Linked DNA regions of Homo sapiens: region 2 is linked to region 1. Evidence: promoter capture Hi-C in 16 types of primary human blood cells and fetal thymus (Javierre and others, 2016). All regions are on one chromosome and are shown on one strand. The core of a region is centred on a gene start or on the middle of the fragment in contact, and the rest is flanking DNA. Distances in the headings are between cores, read along the strand shown.

Region 1 (2,735 bases), core at 158-2,657:
GTGCTGATTGGTGCGTTTACAAACCTTTAGCTACACACAGAGTGCTGATTGGTGTGCTTACAATCCTTTAGCTAGACACAAACGTTCTCCAAGTCCCCACCAGATTAGCTAGACACAGAGCGCTGATTGGTGCTTTTACAATCCTTTAGCTAGACAGAAAAGTTCTCCAAGTCCCCACCATCCCAGAAGCCCAGCTGGCTTCACCTCTCACTGGCACTAGCCACGGGACTTTGTGGCACCTATCCGGAGCACCTAGCCCGGGCACTCCAGCAGCCTAGAGGGAGCTCGTCCCAGACAATCAAGAGCAAAAGACGGGAAGCAAGAAAGAGATGGAGACCCGCCATCGTGGCCAACGTTCTGGTCCACGCACGGGATTCAGCCTCTGATCAAGCCCCAGTTCCCGCCCACGCCTCTCCCTCCACACCTCCCGGCAAGCAGAGGGAGCCGGCTCCGGCCTCGGCCAGCCCCAGAGAGGGTCCCCCACAGCGCAGCGGCGGGCTGAAGGGCTCCTTGAAGACGGAGAGAGCTGAAGCTGAGGCTGAGGAGGCGCCAAGAGCGAGCCAGGGCTGCTAGCAAGTTGTCATCTCTCATTACTAGCATTCTCTCAGGAATATCCTACCGCAGGGTTCCCGTGTTTCATATACAATTAGTGATGAGGCTAATCATCCTGATCTCAAATTTCCTCTACCTGCCCACCAGCTGACTTAAACCCCTATACTGTGGGCATGCATTCTGCCCACTCTGAAATCTTAGGATTTAACTTCTCTTGCTTCCTAGAAAATGAACCACTTTGTTCCTTTAGTCATTTATTCACTAATAATTTGTTGAGAGGTTTTGTTTTGAGGAGCATGAAGGATCTGATGTAAGAACTACCACCGGTGCTGGTGATCACAATATATGCAGCTGATTAAAGTTCCTCATTTATGCTACCTACATCCCTGGTAAGAATTTCATTCCTTCAACCAATACTTTTCATTTGAAAGCATCTCATTACGAAAGACTTCAATCTTTTAGGCTTCTGCATCTTGCAAAACAAATATGGTTCCAAAGAGCCTATCTTTTCAACAAATCTTTGGTTTGAGCCTGGATGAAACAGTTATTACAGAATCAACTGGAGAGGAAAAAATCTTCATCTAACACTGAAGTCTTTCTATTCTGCGAGGTGAAATCCTTTGACCTAGATTCTGTCCCTTGAAAGGCAAGTGACAGTAGGTGAGCCTAAGAAAATTGGTTAATTCTTGATCTAAAAAGTTAAATTCATGAACCACACTGATTTGATTACCTTGAAAATCTACCAGACAGAAAGTTCTCCCTTTTATCCACCTTCATTGTTACCTTCAGAGCAGCTCTCTCCATAGCAACTGAAAACTTTTCTGGGCTGAAATAATCCTCTCTAGCTCCCAGTGCACAGTCAAAGAATTTTAAAAACAGGGAACTTTGTAACTGTGAAATACTCTCCAGGATTTAAAAGGCTGTGGAGCTCCAGATAAAGAATCGTTTATCTTTCTTCTGAAGGTAAGCACTGGGGTTAGAAATGCTTGCATCATCCTCTGTCACTTTTAAATTGCTAACATAACAACCTTAAAGTGTTGTTGTTGTTTTTAACTCATAAAAGTAATCCCAGTACCTTTGTTACTAGCCCACAGTCATTTACCAGCTCATCTCTGGGCCAGGATCGGACATGAGATGCTGTTAACATTTTACATGCCTTAAGCCATCAACAGAAAGATAATTTTTTTTTCCAGGAAGTTGATTGGCTCTAAAGTCATCCCCCACTCCTTTAGTCACCACTGAGTGAGTGTGTGTGTGTGTGTGTGTCATGTTCTTGAGGTCTCGAAATTCTGTTTTTCTAAGATGCTTCCTGCTCTAGAATCTTGATTCTTAGTAAACTAAAAAAAAGACCTGTGTTTTCTGAACATTACTATTTTCTTCTAGTGCTTTTCCTTGTCTAAAACTCTTTTTTTTTCTTTTTTCTTTTTTCTTTTTTTTTTTTTTGAGATGGAGTCTTGTTCTGTCGCCCAGGCTGGAGTGCAGTGGCACGATCTTGGCTCACTGCAACCCCCGCCTCCCGGGTTCAAGCAATTCTTCTGCCTCAGCCTCCCATGTAACTGGGACTACAGGCACGTGCCACCATACCTGGCTAATTTTTGTATTTTCAGTAGAGACGGGGGTGTCACCATATTGGCCAGGCTGGTCTCAAACTCCTGACCTCGTGATCTGCCTGCTTCAGCCTCCCAAAGTGCTGGGATTACTGGTGTGAGCTACCGCGCCTGGCCTAAAACTTTTAAACTCAACATGATGTTGGTCATTTAGTAGAATTTATTTTCTCTTTTTCATGAGGACCATGAATCACTTGGAGTTCTTTATAATGGGATAAACATAAGGTGTTTCCCAACCTGGGTCCTATAACTTGTACCACCTGTTGGTAAATGGAGAAACTTACGTGACGCTATGTTTAGTTTAGGGAGAGAGAATCTAGCAAGCTTTTTGGCTGCTGTGCAGTTTGAAAGTCTACAGCCATGGTGCTTTCCTGCCATTTGGGGTTAGAAATTACCTACAGACCCCCGCTGTGTAGAAACAGCTTGTCATTGCAAATCAGCTTAGCCACCCAATTAATGAATCCTTTCAAACATGTTGCAGGCACAATAATTGAAGGCTTTATTTTTCCCCTTTACCACAGAAATTCCTTTGGTTACAAGTTTACCCCATAAACGGCAACACACTCACCTCCATCC
Region 2 (2,735 bases), core at 80-2,579, 250 kb after region 1:
CTTGGTTTCTCTAACTCTCAAATGAGCCACCATATATTATAGGGACCAAACCATGGGATTTTGGGGTCAAAAATATCCTCGGTGTAAGTATCAGCTCATCTGTTTACTTCAAGTTTTTTTTTAACTCCTTTAAAAACTTCACATTCTCATCTGTAAAGCAAGGATAATAATACACAATCTATAAGGGCTTAAGCAAATTAGAGATGATATAGTTTAAGGATTTAGTATAGTTCCTGGAACAGAGTAATTTCTCAGTCATTGGCCGCCCAATGGCATGAATTGAAAAGGTTGAGCCAGTGTCTATAGTTCCAGAACCATTCTCAGGTTCTATTTTGGAATGTTTATCTCTTCTGTGTTGTGGCTGTGGAGTAAGATCCATCTGGAATGTAGTAACGTCAAGAAATAGCAAGTTCTTTGCCTTTCTGTCTTTGTTTCAGGAAGCACATACTTTGTAATCTGTGACATTTTTATGCTGAAATTCCCTTTCTTGACATACAGACTGACACTGTATAATTCAGTCAGTTTCCTATTATCTCTGTTGTTAAGCAAGACTGGATTTTCATCACTGGGAAAGCTGTTAACAGAGTCCCCATTAAGCGAGCCATCACTGAACATTTTCCTTGATTGATGCTTTAAGATTCTGTCACTCACTCTTTGAAAATATCAGACTACAGGGTCTGAAGCAGGTTTCTGCAATATTCTGCAGTACCTCATGGGTACAAAAGAGACACAGGAATATGCCACAGCATCTAGATCCAATTCTTAGTGAAAATTTTGTTCTTTCATCTGTATTCTGGTCAGCCAGCTTGAAGTAGACACAGGCAGATGCTTGGAGAGTCGAAATTATAGCCGAATGATATCACAGAGTAGTTAAATACCAGCCAAGCTGTGGTTGCAGCATGGCAACTTTACAAGCCGGGCAGGTTAGCATGGATGCTGTGAAAAGTGACCCCTCTATCTGAAAAAGGGTTTTGTACCTTGGCTGGCATTAGTCACTTTTCCTTGTTTGATATTTACAGCTTTCTCTTGTCCTTTGTATCCTTTGGGTAACACACCGTGAGTGAGAGCAGAAAAGCTTTCCTTATAAAGGTAGCAATTTTATTCAAGATTAAAATGCTCTATTTTTCCACATTACATCAATGAGTACCTTCAAAAAAAGATGACTTAATGAGGGGGAAACATGAATAAATAAACACCCACACGTACATACATATGTATGTGTGTATATACATAGAGAAACATAACGGGGCGAGTGATCGTTGATTATTTTAGCGGAGGCTGTAGAGGGAACAACACAATTACATATATGGTAATGAAGAATGAACAAGTAATTGTGTTGTAATTTCCCTCTGCTTTTTGCTAGTGGTGACTGTTATGAAAAGCAGGTTGTTGGAATAAAAAAAAAGATACTAAATAAAGAACCGTAGTTCTTATAATAGCATTTTATAGTCTGTCTTTTGAAATATACTAAAATTTTTCACAATCCATGTTTCTCTGCTTTTGCCAATTGTGTTTGTGATTGTTCATTTGTGCATAGAAGTTTCAGTAGGAAAATACAGTCGTTTTTGTAAAGGTTGGATTTATAAGCTTCAATAAAAACAGGCTCATTCAAACAAAAAAGCAATCAGATTGCAAAATGGCAAATAAAAGAGGAAGCTTATCCTTATAGGAGAAAAAACGTTTAATTTTAACATTATGTTTAAATAGACAAAGAGACCTACTGCAGACTTTTAAAGTGTTCATTTTGCTTCCGTTGCTGCAGTTCAGCTTACAGATGGTCCCTACGATAGTTGCTATAGAAACCAAACCTTTTTCATCAATCTCTCCCTGTTGCTATGGTGTGTTTGCAGCCACTGCATGTAAACTTTTGTATAAAGTGTCATTTATGCTTTTCATGACTGACCTTATAATGAAACATATTGATTATACATTAACCAACAAAGTCTAGCATGAAATGACACATCACCACTAAACACCCGTTACTAAGTAGAATAGGTGGACCTAACATTATTTGTAGATGTGAATTGTGCCTTTGTTAACCAGGCTATTTGAAATATCAGTGGGATAAGGAAATCTTGCTCTAATTGACAAAAGCAGAATCTTTTATTTTCTTTCTTGAAAGTGATAGTTTTTCTTTTAAAATTTAGTTTCTTCAAAGTTAAACCTGTCATAGGATTCAAATTTCCTGCTTTGTAATTTTTGCTCTGACATTTTATGTGTGGCCTTAGGCCACAAAATCATTTAACCTCTGGATTTAGTGAGATAACAAAACTATGGCATGATAGATTTGGATGTGTTAAGCTCTGCGAGGGCAAGTACACTACCTGTTTTGTTTACCGTTATACATTCAGAACTTGGTGATATCCAGACAAACAGCCTAGAATACAGTAAACATTCAAAAGTACTTGTTGAGTAAATGAATATACATGTTATTGCTTCTGATCACATATGCATTCCATACTGTACTTTCTGTATAGAGTCAATTTCAAGAGTAGGCTTCATTTCATTTTAATGCCACAAATATTTAATGAGTTCCTACTAGTGGTAAAATGCTTCACTTCTTGCTGGATTCCTTAAACTTTACCAGAAAAAAAAAAAAAAAAAGGTCTGGCTTTCATGCCCAAGACTCTATATTCCAAACTCTCTAATGTTTATACATTTGTAGATGTCAAGTGTTTTTTGTTTTTGAGGGTTTTTAAAAAAAAATTCTTAAGATCTGTATCATTGAATAGAAA

The links. Contacts are between HindIII fragments. The CHiCAGO score rates a contact against its expected background, and 5 or more counts as called.
Region 2: a fragment that was not itself captured here is called in contact with the fragment with the promoter of SLC39A12 in region 1 in 1 of 17 cell types (M2 macrophages); the score reaches 6.9 in M2 macrophages.

What each region holds. Positions count from the first base shown.
Region 1 is chr10:17,950,511-17,953,245 of GRCh38, forward strand. SLC39A12 (solute carrier family 39 member 12) reads left to right here and starts at 1,408. Exons shown (of 13, transcript NM_001145195.2): 1 at 1,408-1,515; 2 at 2,681-2,735. The HindIII fragment of the contact is 2,620 bases long and covers 1-2,481 here.
Region 2 is chr10:18,202,390-18,205,124 of GRCh38, forward strand. All of the region lies in intron 2 of CACNB2 (calcium voltage-gated channel auxiliary subunit beta 2), which reads left to right. Among named protein-coding and RNA genes, the nearest start is that of CACNB2-AS2, 58 kb to the right of the region's middle. The HindIII fragment of the contact is 512 bases long and covers 1,074-1,585 here.